Linked DNA regions of Homo sapiens: regions 1, 2, 4 and 5 are each linked to region 3. Evidence: promoter capture Hi-C in 16 types of primary human blood cells and fetal thymus (Javierre and others, 2016). All regions are on one chromosome and are shown on one strand. Each heading gives the region's core, a stretch centred on a gene start or on the middle of the fragment in contact. The rest is flanking DNA. Distances are from core to core; before and after follow the strand shown. Region 1 holds the start of IRS1 (insulin receptor substrate 1). Region 2 holds the start of AGFG1 (ArfGAP with FG repeats 1). Region 3 holds the start of ACSL3 (acyl-CoA synthetase long chain family member 3). Region 4 has its middle 1.7 kb from the start of RHBDD1. Region 5 overlaps MFF (mitochondrial fission factor).

What was found. The method cuts DNA at HindIII sites, captures the fragments that hold promoters and counts their contacts. A CHiCAGO score of 5 or more calls a contact.
Region 1: the fragment with the promoter of IRS1 here is called in contact with the fragment with the promoter of ACSL3 in region 3 in 1 of 17 cell types (naive CD8 T cells); the score reaches 6.0 in naive CD8 T cells.
Region 2: the fragment with the promoter of AGFG1 here is called in contact with the fragment with the promoter of ACSL3 in region 3 in 3 of 17 cell types (naive CD8 T cells, total CD8 T cells and non-activated CD4 T cells); the score reaches 7.9 in naive CD8 T cells.
Region 4: a fragment that was not itself captured here is called in contact with the fragment with the promoter of ACSL3 in region 3 in 2 of 17 cell types (total CD4 T cells and fetal thymus); the score reaches 8.6 in total CD4 T cells.
Region 5: a fragment that was not itself captured here is called in contact with the fragment with the promoter of ACSL3 in region 3 in 1 of 17 cell types (naive CD8 T cells); the score reaches 6.2 in naive CD8 T cells.

The regions. Positions count from the first base shown.
Region 1 is chr2:226,798,432-226,801,131 of GRCh38, reverse strand. It overlaps IRS1 (insulin receptor substrate 1), which reads left to right and starts at 1,312. Exons shown (of 2, transcript NM_005544.3): 1 at 1,312-2,700. The coding sequence starts at 2,394. It also overlaps a transcript of RHBDD1 not described here. RefSeq lists silencers at 944-1,013, 1,034-1,453, 2,444-2,493. The HindIII fragment of the contact is 8,747 bases long and covers 1-2,700 here.
Region 2 is chr2:227,470,722-227,473,421 of GRCh38, reverse strand. It overlaps AGFG1 (ArfGAP with FG repeats 1), which reads right to left and starts at 1,266. Exons shown (of 13, transcript NM_004504.5): 1 at 834-1,266. The coding sequence starts at 1,000. MIR5703 (microRNA 5703) reads right to left here and starts at 1,290; the gene lies at 1,235-1,290. LOC124907994 (a long non-coding RNA gene) reads left to right here and starts at 1,323. Exons shown (of 2, transcript XR_007088114.1): 1 at 1,323-2,262; 2 at 2,433-2,634. RefSeq lists a silencer at 558-1,277 and an enhancer at 1,390-2,353. The HindIII fragment of the contact is 6,204 bases long and covers 1-2,700 here.
Region 3 is chr2:222,859,683-222,862,382 of GRCh38, reverse strand. ACSL3 (acyl-CoA synthetase long chain family member 3) reads right to left here and starts at 1,347. Exons shown (of 17, transcript NM_004457.5): 1 at 1,125-1,347. RefSeq lists silencers at 852-1,221, 1,292-1,621 and an enhancer at 1,338-1,632. The HindIII fragment of the contact is 2,380 bases long and covers 1-1,916 here.
Region 4 is chr2:226,832,999-226,835,698 of GRCh38, reverse strand. It overlaps a transcript of RHBDD1 not described here. Among named protein-coding and RNA genes, the nearest start is that of RHBDD1, 1.7 kb to the left of the region's middle. RefSeq lists enhancers at 123-192, 32-326. The HindIII fragment of the contact is 2,124 bases long and covers 276-2,399 here.
Region 5 is chr2:227,332,151-227,334,850 of GRCh38, reverse strand. It overlaps MFF (mitochondrial fission factor), which reads right to left. Exons shown (of 9, transcript NM_001277062.2): 4 at 2,263-2,432. Among named protein-coding and RNA genes, the nearest start is that of MFF, 8.2 kb to the right of the region's middle. The HindIII fragment of the contact is 1,684 bases long and covers 478-2,161 here.

The DNA of each region.
Region 1 (2,700 bases), core at 63-2,562, 3.9 Mb before region 3:
TGAGGCCGAGGAGGGTCCCGGCGTAGTAAAGGGGCGGCAACCCCAAACGGGCCAGGCATCAAAATGAGACAGCATTAAACCGAGTGACATCTCTGTGGGTCCTTAGTGCCAGGCGAGCAAGCAGGGACAAACTGCTTGTTTATAGGTCGGCTTAAAAAATAAAAAAACTCTGGGGAGCGTTTGTTTGTGGGGAGACTGATACCGCAAGGTGACCCTGAAAGGGGCGCTTCAAGTAGACCCAGGCTGCTGATCTGGTCCACTCATGAAGTAACCATTTTCCTGTACAGTTGAGCTGGCACCATCCTTGTTTTCTCCCTGTTATCCTTGTGGTCAAGGTTAAAAACTTATAGGGTGGTTCAATGGGTGTGGGAGCTGTGTGTGAAACAAACATTTCAGCCAATATTTGCACAGTAGGGTTTTGGCCTTATGAACCCTCTGAAGGTCCCTAACAGCTTTTTAAAGTCACGGATAGACTTCGGAATATGATAAGGGACCTCTCATTTCCCCTCCCCCATGCCCTCAGCCTTAGGTGTGAGTCCCCCCGTCACACGGATGGGCAAGGGGAGCAGGAGAAAAGGTGATATTTACATTTTCTCCCTACTTGATCAGCAACTAATTCCACAGCGCCGGACGTGAGACACTTCCTGGGGATCCCTGTTCTCCTTTTGTAGTGACCATAACTGCCCCCAGTCACTGCCCTTGGGCGTCCCTCTGTTCCTTCCAGGTACCTCACGGCAGCAAATCTGGGGATCCCAAGGTGGAAGGCTGGCCCAGAAGTCCTTTAGAAAAACCTTAAAAAATACAGATCCCCTCACCATGGCCTATCGCCCTGAAGCCGAAATCTAGCTTTTAAATTTCCTGGGGGAAACAGCCTTGACTAGAAACCTCCCTCCCGTGGGTCAGTCTTACCTGATAGGTAAGAGGCAGCCCAGCTCCGGCGCCCCCGCCTCCCCCCGGCCTCCCACTCGGGGCTCTGTAGCCGCAGTGCCCCCCCGTGGCCCCCCACCCTCACTCCTGCGTCTTCCCGAGCTCGCCCCCTCCCGTTTTCCCAGACTCCCCTCGTGCTTTCGGGTAGCCACCCAAACACCCCCGCCTGCGCCCGCCGCGGGGATTCCTGCGGGCCGGGGGCGCCCCGGTTGGCGCGCGTGTAGGGAGGCGCTGCGCCGGAGCTGGCGGCCGCGCAGGGGCGCTGTCCTAGCGCTGCGCCGGGGTCGGCGCGGGCGCCGCTGCAGCACGGCTGGGGGGCGGAGAGGGGCGGGCGCGGGGCGGGCTCGGCCCGGAATGTAGAGACCCGGGCGGGAGCCTCCCGGCGGCGGCTGCCCGGCTGCCGAGCGCGGAGGCTCCGTCACGTGTTTTTCTCCTCCGAGTGAGACGGCGGCGCGGTCGGAGGGGGCCGGCGCGCAGAGCCAGACGCCGCCGCTTGTTTTGGTTGGGGCTCTCGGCAACTCTCCGAGGAGGAGGAGGAGGAGGGAGGAGGGGAGAAGTAACTGCAGCGGCAGCGCCTCCCGAGGAACAGGCGTCTTCCCCGAACCCTTCCCAAACCTCCCCCATCCCCTCTCGCCCTTGTCCCCTCCCCTCCTCCCCAGCCGCCTGGAGCGAGGGGCAGGGATGAGTCTGTCCCTCCGGCCGGTCCCCAGCTGCAGTGGCTGCCCGGTATCGTTTCGCATGGAAAAGCCACTTTCTCCACCCGCCGAGATGGGCCCGGATGGGGGCTGCAGAGGACGCGCCCGCGGGCGGCGGCAGCAGCAGCAGCAGCAGCAGCAGCAACAGCAACAGCCGCAGCGCCGCGGTCTCTGCGACTGAGCTGGTATTTGGGCGGCTGGTGGCGGCTGGGACGGTTGGGGGGTGGGAGGAGGCGAAGGAGGAGGGAGAACCCCGTGCAACGTTGGGACTTGGCAACCCGCCTCCCCCTGCCCAAGGATATTTAATTTGCCTCGGGAATCGCTGCTTCCAGAGGGGAACTCAGGAGGGAAGGCGCGCGCGCGCGCGCGCTCCTGGAGGGGCACCGCAGGGACCCCCGACTGTCGCCTCCCTGTGCCGGACTCCAGCCGGGGCGACGAGAGATGCATCTTCGCTCCTTCCTGGTGGCGGCGGCGGCTGAGAGGAGACTTGGCTCTCGGAGGATCGGGGCTGCCCTCACCCCGGACGCACTGCCTCCCCGCCGGGCGTGAAGCGCCCGAAAACTCCGGTCGGGCTCTCTCCTGGGCTCAGCAGCTGCGTCCTCCTTCAGCTGCCCCTCCCCGGCGCGGGGGGCGGCGTGGATTTCAGAGTCGGGGTTTCTGCTGCCTCCAGCCCTGTTTGCATGTGCCGGGCCGCGGCGAGGAGCCTCCGCCCCCCACCCGGTTGTTTTTCGGAGCCTCCCTCTGCTCAGCGTTGGTGGTGGCGGTGGCAGCATGGCGAGCCCTCCGGAGAGCGATGGCTTCTCGGACGTGCGCAAGGTGGGCTACCTGCGCAAACCCAAGAGCATGCACAAACGCTTCTTCGTACTGCGCGCGGCCAGCGAGGCTGGGGGCCCGGCGCGCCTCGAGTACTACGAGAACGAGAAGAAGTGGCGGCACAAGTCGAGCGCCCCCAAACGCTCGATCCCCCTTGAGAGCTGCTTCAACATCAACAAGCGGGCTGACTCCAAGAACAAGCACCTGGTGGCTCTCTACACCCGGGACGAGCACTTTGCCATCGCGGCGGACAGCGAGGCCGAGC
Region 2 (2,700 bases), core at 17-2,516, 4.6 Mb before region 3:
GATACAGATAAATCTCACAGATAACTCCATCATATTTAGAATCACACAGCTCCTAGTGGGTACCTTATTGCCATTAAAACTTTCCCCCAACTCCTCAACACTCTCTTCGGACCATAAAACTAAAATCCCACAGCTTCAAATCTGCTCCTCTGCCTCCCCCTCCCGCAATTAATCCTTTCGAACTTTTCCCAGGGGATTCACATCTGCCATCAAGATGCTTTCATCCTGCTACTATTCCTAAGTGCCTGCTTCCTCCCAGTTACGTAGGTACTCTCGACCCAGAAAAAAGGCACGGGCGAGGCAGGCGTCCCTCCCTCCCACCCCAGCTTCTCCCCGACCCCCAGCAGGAGCGCCCAGCAGGTGCCTCGCTCCGCACCGCGGCTCCCGGGCCGCTGAGAGGCGGGGCACACAAAGGACCCGCATGGACCTCCCCCCCGGCCTCCTAGCGTCTTCCCCCACCCCCCACAGCCCGGCGCCCCGGGTAGCTGGAGAGCGAGGGCGGCGGCCGCAGGCTCGACGGAGACCAGGGACGCTCGCCCCGGTCGCCCCCTCCCTGACCCCAACCCCGCCCACGTCCCACCCACGAAGGCTGCCCAGAACGTAAACCCTCGCCCGGCAAAACCGAAAACGCATCCCCAGCCCGGCTGCCCGGGCCCTGCGCATCCAGCCCGCAGCCTCCCACGCCGCGCCCGCCAGCCGGCGCCCAACGGCCGCCCCCGACCGCCTCCCACGGCACCCGGCTCTTTCCCAGCCCCGGAAGGGTCCCGGTCCCGCCGCCCGCTCCCCCACCTCCCGGGAAGGGCCCGACACCCGCCCGGCCGCCCCGCACTCACAGGCTGCCGGAGCAGGAGGTACACACGAAGGAGCCGACCGTCATGTTAACGTAGGTGGGGCCGCGCTGGTCGCAGTCGAAGCACTTTCGGTTGTGCGGGAGGCCGGTCATGTCCCGCAGCATCTTCAGGTGCTTCTCCTCCTGCTTCCGCTTCGCGCTGGCCGCCATGGCCGCGGCGCCAAGGGAGGAGGCCGGCAGGGCCGGGAGCCGGGCAGCGCTGCGCCGGGGGCCCGCGGTCCCACGGGCCGCCCTGGCCGCGGCCGCCGCCCTCCGTCTGCGCGCGCCGCCCGCGCCGGACCCGGCCGCAGCGGCTTGGCTGTACTGGGCTCGACGCGGCCCGGGCGCTGTGGTACGCGGGCTGACGGGCCACACCAACCGGCACAGCCGGGACAACCGCCGCCGCCGCCGCCACCTTCCCGACTTCTCCTGAGGGGAAAAGACGAGGAAGGGGACGGCAAGAGGAGGCCCGCCCTGGGCGGCCGGTAGCCAAGTGTCCGCTGGCGCCCTCTGCTGGCCAGGAGGAGTCACTGCGGCCTCGCTGAGGCATGGGCCGGGTCTGGAGCCAAGTAGGGTAGACACAATGGTGATAATAATATTAATAATAGACAGTATTTATTGAGCGCTTATATATGCAAAGCGTTTCACATGGGTTACCTTCCCCTTCTGTTTAAAACTCTTCAAGGGCTTTCCACTGCTTTGAGTATAATTCCAAATTCCTCACCGTGCCGTAAAAAGTGCTCCATAGTCTAGCCCAGTCTACCTCATTCTTCGTCGTCCTCACTCAGCCACACTGGATTTTGAGTTTTCTGAACACAGCAAGCTCCTTTCTGACTCCTGCAGGACCTTTGCCCTTGCTCTTCTCTCTTTATCTTTGGGCCAGCTAATTTGGGGGGGCTTGGGGTGTCCTGTGCACTGTAGGATACTGGGCGGCGTTCCTAGCCTATACCCACTAGATACAAGAACAAACCCCCCAATTCCCATTGCTGGCAACCAAAAATCCCCAGACATTGCCAAAAGTGGAGGGAACTTTAGGGCGGTGCAGTCACCTGGCTTGAGAACTGCTGCGTGTGGAAACCCGGATCATCCATAGCTGACATCCTCTAAGTCAGGTGGGGCTCAGATGTCACCTCCCCCGCCAGACTGTCCCAGATCAGCCGAGTTAATGTTGCAGCTCACCTTTCTCGAAGTTGCTCTCCATCAAATTGCTGCGTTGTATTTTCGTCTCAGTTCTAGCTATTTGAAATACTGCATCTTATTTCGTGTTTACCATGGGTGATCTGGACTCTCCCTTTAGGCGCTAAACAGCCTGGCCCCCGTATTTTCTGTGCCACTCCACCCCATTCCCCTCGCAGAGCTGGAGACTAGGTGTTCAATGTTGACGGAATGAATACATGAAATCGTTCATGTAATCTTCACAACAACCCTTCGAGGTGAGCGTTATTGTTATTTACATTTTACAAAACAGGAAGATGAAACCCTGAGGGATTAAGTAAATTTACCCAAGGGTACCTATGGCGAAGCTCAATTCCAACCCAGACAGCCAGACTGCAGGACCCAAATCCCCACTGCAACAATCAACTTCGTCTCTCGTTTTCCAAAGGAGTACAGGGAGACCCAGAGAGCTGAAGTTCTCAAATCACTGGGCTGTTGAATGGATTAGAATCTACGTTTCCTAACAGCCAAGACCAACCTCCACATCTCTCATGAAAGGGATTGGGTGAATCAACAAAGTGAGACTTCATATTAATATAATACTACTAATAATAATTAATGTTTTTAATATTAAAAGAAATGGACAGATAGATTGGCCAATGAATGTTTTTAAACTTTTCTATTATGGAAAATATCAAACTACCATGAGCCCATGG
Region 3 (2,700 bases), core at 98-2,597:
GGAGAGGCAGCAAAATATAGTGCTTAGATTTCAGAGCTCTGGATTTACACAGGCCTGTCTGAATCCCAGCTTCTTACTAGCTGAGATCTGAGGCAAGCTAAGTCGTCCAATCTGCAGTTTCTCCCGCTGTAAAATGGGAATAACCCCCACCCCAGAGGACTGTTAACAGTGTGAAGACACTGTACATAAAGCTCTCCAAACAGTGCGTGGCATGTAATAAAAGCTCAATAAATGTCAGCTATTTGTCATTCTTTTCAGCTATAATTTCGTTCACAAAGCCTACTGCCTTTCTAGCTTCCATATAATTTTAAAGACATTCCTCCAGCCTTTTCATTTTCGAGGGATCTTTTATACAGCAGCTTAGAGCACACTTTCTAGTATCAGACTTCCTGCGAAAACCATTTGAAAACCTGTGCCTCGGGCTCCTCATCTGTGAAACGAGCCTGATAACACCTACCCCACAGGACTGCTGGTAGTAAGCAGTCCCCGAGTTACCCAACCTATCAACAGTATATGATTAAAACGCACTTGGGGAAAAGCAAAGCTGCAACTCTCAAACCCCAAACGACAGTCTTAATCCCAGTCCCACCACCACGATAGTGCCCAGAACCAATCACCAAGGTCGACCCACCTCACGCACCTAGTTTCTTCTCACCCCACGCAGCAACAGCCCCTCCCGCCCCGCCAAACAAGGGTTTTCCGAAATCGCAGGGCTGAGTCTCCTTCCACGGACACCGCACTGCTGGGGCCGCGGCAGAGCCCTCTTAATTCAAGGGGGTGGCCTCCCCACCCCGCCCCACAGCGCCGGGAGGCACGCAGTGCATCCTCCCTGCCTGGTCAGCGCCGCCCCACGCCGTTCGCGCTGCAGCTCCCGGCTCGCGTGGGCTCAGGGCCGAGGCCCCACGTCAGCCGCTTCCCGGACCCCAGCGGGCCGCCTCCCACCCTGCTCGCCGCTGCTCCTGGTGCCGCGGGCCGCCCGCGCGCACACCCAGCGGTCAGGTGCGGCGCCGACGACAGGGTCCCAGGCCCCGAGGCTGGGGAGCCCCTCGGGCCCAGCCGAACCGCACGCGGAGGCCGCGCCGCCAACCGGCTCCCGCCGCTCCCACAACCGGCGCCGCACTCACCGCTACGCCGGAGTCCGGGTTCCTCCGGCCTCGGGCCCGCGCAGGCCTGGCTGAGCCCCAGAGCGTTCACGCCCCGCGCCGCCGCCCGGGGATCCTGGCGCAGCTGTCGGGGCCGCAATGCGAGGGGACGAACGTATGCGACCCCGTCCAACGCCTCCTCGTCCCGGCCCCGGCCGCGTAGACAACTGCAGTGTCGCAGCCCGGCGCAGCCACAGCAGCGTCTGTTGAGCGGAACCGCCTGGGACGCTCACCCCCGGCCGGCACTCGTTGCCTATGCAGAGAGGCTGCCACCCATTGGCCCGCGAGCGGTGGCGCGTGCGGGGCTGGGCCTATCGAATTCGGGCCGGGGAGCGCGGCGCTGGCGGCCCGGGGCGGGGCGAGGTTACTACGGGTCATTCCGCGGAGCCGCCGCGGACCGGACCTGGCTGCAGTCTGCGCGGGGCGGGGGCGGGAACGGGGTCGACCAGGAGGGACGGACCGCGGGTGGGGGAGGGGAGCGGGGATCTGCGGCAGCGACGTGGGAGGAGCGGCTAGCCCAATAGGGTCTGCAGGAGCTCCGTCCCTCCAGGAAAAAACACCCCTCCACCAAAAAAAAAAAAAAAAAAATTACAGTCGCACAATTATTGCTGTAATGTATAAATTTCAATATAAATTATGAAATAGTATGCATATTCTTTTTCGTTTTTAACTGGATTAGTTATCCCGTTCTTGCAGAAATTGCTGTCAAATCCTGCCAAATAAAATGGCTTTTGGAACTGCCTGGGGCAAGAAGAGCCTCAAAAACTCAAAGCTTATCCATTATCATTTCTCTTGTTTTGGCCTCACTTGACCTAGCATATAACCCGTTTTCCTCTAAATGCACTCACCATGCAAATTTGCTATTTCTTTTCAAAAAATAAAGTTTACTCCAAATTATTGTTTTTGAACGTTCTTAGGAATCCACAGTGGTTCTGTATTTTAAGGAGTTTGCCATTGTTTCTCGTTTTAGACACTAAACAAGGATAAGAAAGAAAGCATCCAGTGCAGGTAGTAGAACTACATGTACTGTAAGAGAGAAGATTTTCACTCACCCAGTACTAGTAGGATTGGTCTCTTTTTTTAACCCAACATATTGTTTAGTTTGCCTGTGAACTTTTCCTTAAGTAGGTGAAAGGTTGCCTTCCTGAGCCAGCCTCAGGCTAAAGCAGGCCTCATTTCCCAAGAGAATCAAAATCAGGAAGCCGCCAGAACTTGAACTAGGTGGAGCGATGATGCACCAAGCAAAGAGAGCTCACTCACCGTGGGCCAAGGGCCAATCGAGAACCTAAAGGGATGGATACCTGACTCAGGCAAACTGTTCTCCCACTTCAAAATATGGCAGTTCAGTTGCTCATTAATCTGTTGAAATCTTATCAAAGGATACATCCTGAAGATAAATGGAATGCAGAATTTCTTATCTGAAAAGACATTCGCAGCTCTGCAGAGAGAAGCAGGCTTTAGAAGTAGTACTTCTAGAACCATGAAATCCTCTGGAAAATACTGGTTTTTTTCCGAGAGAAGAAAACTAATATTGCACCTTTTTATCTATCCATAAGCC
Region 4 (2,700 bases), core at 88-2,587, 4.0 Mb before region 3:
AGGGGAGAAGCAGCGAGCGGGTCGCGGCCGCCTACCCAACGGACGCCTCTGCCCAGGTTCTCTGCCGGGAAGCTTCGTCCTTCCGGGCCCCAGCGCAGCCGGAGGCTGGGGAGCTGCTGCCTGGAAGGGTCAGATACCGCCTGTTAGGCGGAGGGTGGGAAAGACACTCTCCTGCTTCAGGAGCTATCGCAGACAACCGGAGGGCGGCTTATCGCAGAGTCCCAGAGCCAGCCAGCAAGGCAAGGTCGCGGGTGCACCTTTCACTCCCAGAAGCTTGGGTCTGGGACTGCACCACGCAACGTTTGCCCATTTTGAGGGCTTTAGGTGTTTCATATTTCAGTTAATAGAATTTCGATTAATACATAATTTGATACCATTTTAATTGTTTGCTACTCGGGAGCAAGTTTTATGTTTAGCTGTAGGAGTTAGGCTAAGTTAAATGTTGCAATGCTATATATATTTAATAGGATATGAAAAAACTATCTTACAGCCGGGCGCGGTAACTCACGCCTGTAATCCCCGCACTTTGGGAGGTCGAGGCAGGAGGATCGCTTGAGCTCAGGAGTTTGAGACCAGCCTGGACAACATAGTGAGACCTTGTCTCTATTTAAAAAACAACAACAGGCCTGGCGCGGTGGCCCACGCCTGTAATCCCAGCACTTTGGGAGGCTAAGGCGGGCGGATCACCGGAGGTCAGGAATTCAAAACCAGCCTGGCCAACATGGCGAAACCCTGTCTCTACTAAAAATACAAAAATTAGCCAGGCATGGTTGCGGGCGCCTGTAATCCCGGCTACTCGGGAGGCTGAGGCAGGGGAATCCTTGAACCCGGGAGGCAGAGGTTGCAGTGAGATCGCGTCCATGCACTCCAGCCTGGGCGACAGAGCATGACTCTATCTCAAAAAAAAAAAATCTTACTATTTGGTATGGAATTTTCTGATAGCTAGGGTAAAGATGCTCTTTTTCCAAGAAGGAATCCGAGTATCCGAATACAGGTGGTTTAGTGTTACTCTTTGTTTATTGGAAGTTGTAGCAGCTGTGTTTAGATAGTCTGCTAAAACAAAAACTGCCTAAACCAGAAGAGTTTATCTTTTGCCATTGTGTATTAAAACTCTTCATAGAAATATTTATTTTGGAGTTTGAAATTTAAGTGAAAATGTGGCTCATGCATAGGTGTGGGTGTACATATGACTTTCAAGTGACAAAGAAGATTCTTAGCAAATTGTACGTGTTCATTAAGACTCATAAGTTACCTCTTTCCTAGAAAAACAATATACTCCTCCAAAAGCTCAACTGACAATGAGAAACTGCATTTCTGGACATGAAAAGTCAAATGAATGCGGGGAAAAGTAAATTGCCTATAGAGGTATTTTCTGTATTTCCCTAGAGGGGGAAATGTGTAATTTCTCAAAAGGAAGAAGTCCTCATTTATCCTTCTGAACCACAATCATATGAATCCATTCAATTAATATTAATCTTATCTTCTATTCTCCATCACTCTCTACATCTTTCTATAATTGCATCATTTTCTTGTCCGTATAATACATCAAATGCAGAGGTGATTTTAAGGGAGCCACAAATCAAGAAGTCTCAATTCAATAATTTCGTTAAAATGTAAGAAATATATACGGATTAAGAATATTCTTAGGTAATTATGTTCTGTTTCAAATATCAGTGAAAATTTTCATAGACATTTAAGGGGTAAAAGACATTTAACAGATAGAAAAAAATATCTACCTTTTAAAAAATGACCTTCTCTTTTGTCCTACGTGATTTGTTGAGCAGACTGGGTTTTTTAAAAGTTTCTGTTGAAATGAGCATGTTGTAACATGCTCATATCCCATTTCAATTGACAAATATCACTTGGATAATAATTGTATATCTTAAATATGAACATATGAAGCAATCAGCAGCAGCATCCTTTCACTGAGCAAGGCTTAAAAATACCAAAGAATCAGTGCCAGAAGAAATTCTTTAACTTAAAATATACGTAATCACTACATTACCATATAAAACAATGATTTCTAAATGCTGGAAAGTATATATCTTAATCATGAGACGAGGCAGCACTATGCACATTGTGCATAATATGTGAGACATTGAATGGTATAAAATAAATTTTAACTTTTATCTAAGGTTTACAGGAAAAGCAGCAATACCTATGATTAAGCCACCCGACTTAAATGAGTGTTTTTAAGATGTGGTGCTTGCACATAAGCGGAGGAGTGGTGGTAACAACCCTTGTACAGTTCACAAATCCAGGACTGGCAGGAAGGTAGACAAGTGTCATTCTCAGATTTCAGAACCCAGCCTGAAAGTGAGAGGACGTCAGGCAACAATACCATGCAACGACAGCGTGCAACAAATACACAACTGGATTATCTTTTTAAGGGAGAAGCTTGTTTGGGTTTCTAATTGCTTTTAATGAACCAAGTATTGATTACTGTTTTACCCAAAACTGTACCAAAATATGTGTAAAACTGATAAGATAATTTATAGCTTTCTAGTTATGGAAAAGCTTGCAAATTAAATAATTCAAATCTCAATTTAAGAACTGTAAAAATGAGAAATTGGTTCATGTACCATAGTGATAATAATACCAACAATACTTAACAGTAGACTATGCAGACACTAACCATAAGAGATTTGTAGTGGCTATACTAATATCAGATGAAACAGACTTTAAGAAAGAAATTTCTTT
Region 5 (2,700 bases), core at 70-2,569, 4.5 Mb before region 3:
ATATGGCTAGATGATGTTTTGCTTATCCATTCATCAGCTGATGGATATTTTACTTGCTTCCACCTTTTTGCTATTACAGACATTTTTGGATATCATGACTTGGAAGACGGTAATGGCATCTTGTAGATAGAGATCACAAATGTTGCAAACATTCTACAGTGCAAAAAGGTGGCTCTCACCACAACAAGGAATTTTCCAGTCCAAAATGCCAACAGTGCTGAGGTAGAGCACTATTGCTCTACCTCATTCTAGCATCCACTGCAGAATGATACAGAGCAAATGTTCTGGGGATCTCACTTTATCGATTCTGAGTTAACACCTGAATGAATCATCAATGTTATCAGTACTCAGGCCCTTACTGCTTCTCTATTTCAGTCAATTTCTAGAAGCTACTAGAACCCTGGCTCCCTTACCCCTTCCTCCCTTGCTCACTGCAGTTGAGTGCTTCTTGAAGGCTACTGGACCCTTCTATAAGCTTGTATAAACTTGAAGTCCAAACCATCATCTTTGCTTTCAATAAGCAGCTGGTATTAATCTCAGAAACTCGTCTTTCATTTCAGGATCTGGCTCCTGCCACAGGATTTTAAGTCTCTCCTAACAATAACATTTATATATATTGAGCTTTTAACACGAATTAGAACATGCATGATTACATTTAATTCTCATAACAATCTCATGCACTTGGCATTATTCTTATCTTTATTTCAGAGATACGCCCTAGAACTGTTAAATAACTTGCCCAAAGTTATGTGGTTAGTAAATGGCAAAGTAGGTCTTCAAAATTAGTTCTAATTCTCACACAAACTTTTTTACCCCAGTGTTATACACTCTGAACATCTATCACATTTGACTAAATATCACAATTAATGCAGGAATGAACCCCGTAGAGTCTTAAAGCCTGGGTCTACTGAGGGAAATCCCGGCAAACTTTCTTCACTCACTCTTAAAATAATCAATCAGGGAATTGCTTGGGTTGCTTTCAATTAGGAGAAGCAGAAAGACCAACAGAAAAACCCGAAGAATACAATAAGGAGCATTTCTTTCCTGGCAAAATCGTCACTGTAAGACAATTATTTTCACAGGTATAATTCCCAAGGAACTTTGGGGAGTTAGAAAGCTGGGCCTTAAACTGGGAGCACACTGGATACTTTTGTTTTATGTAACCATCTTGGTAACTTTCATTATTTTCTGCTATTAAAGAATTTTGTATCTTCTGCATGCGTTGATGTCTTTCCCTCACTCATATCATTGTCCTGCTGAAACCAGACAGACAGCAAACTTTTTGAATGCAGGAACTATGTCTCATTAATTCCTATACTGCATATAGTATCTCAGAGATAAAAGTTAAAAAATGTTTGTTAAATAATACAATTCTGCAAGTATGTTAGTGCCTTTCTGTCATGTAAAGGCTCAGATTTAGTGCTTTTCACCAAATACCTAGAATATCCAAACTAACTGTGAGCATATTACCTCAATTATGTCAGCAGAAACTTACAATCTAAGAACCTAATCCTAGAAAATTGCATTGCCCTAGACAGTATGGGTGCTTTACCCTCTTTGGAAAGTATTACATGCAAAATGAAACCAGACACAAGCAGTACCATTATTAATAAAAACATATGTTTGCACATTGTCTCATACTAGCTTCATGACAACATGTTAGAAGTTCAAAAGCTATATGAAAAAGATGTAACCCCAGCAATCATCACGGCAAAGCAGCTTCAAAGGTTAGCTGTAAGTCAATGACAAAGGCAGGATTCGAACTCTGTTACTAACACCTTGTTAGTCTACACTGCTACATTTAGGTCAACTGGCACATTAACGTGATGCAGTAGAGTAGCTCAGTAGAAACTTTTAATCAAGTAGCGAGAATGGGTAGTGTCAAGCGAAAAAGGGTTTTCTTTGCCCTGTTTGCTAGACTGATTTTATAACAAAGTGATACATTTACTTCTTATTGCTAAACTTCCCAACATTTTCTTATTATTTAACAAGTAACACCTACCCATAAAGGCTCTTTCTTCAAACCACAGGAACTTAATAATACTTACCACAAAACTTACATTTTTCCTAAAACATAATATTCAAATTTTAAAAATAGCATAATAACTTATTTGGCACATTTGTAAATTAGAATTATTAGTAATGTTCCATATGGAAAGCTTTCATGACATATTGCTAAAGATATGATAAAGCCTCTTTGCTCTTCTCTTTTACCTTTGTCTACATTATTTCAAATTCCGGTGATACTAAAGTTCTACTTACTTCTTCATTTTGAGGGGTTGTAGGAGGTCTTTCTAAATCCAGAAAATCTAGTGGTCTTTCACTCAGCGTAAGTACACGAGGTGGTGTTTTCAGTGCCAGGGGTTTAAAGGGAGTTGACTGAATAAGGTCAAGATCTGCTGGTCTTGAAAATGAAACATCTTCATTATTTCCTAGGAGTTTTCAAGAAAAGAGACAAAGAAGAGAAAAGCGGGAGGTTTTTTAAAAAGACAGTGATTTTTGTTAAAATGTATTTACCTTCTTCTGCTTTTGAATTATACCACCCAATAAGCATTAGTTTCTTTCAAAATATGCTTCCAGGCCGGGCGCGGTGGCTCACGCCTGTAATCCCAGCACTTTGGGAGGCCGAGGCGGGCGGATCACGAGGTCAAGAGATCGAGACCATCCCGGCTAAAACGGTGAAACCCCGTCTCTACTAAA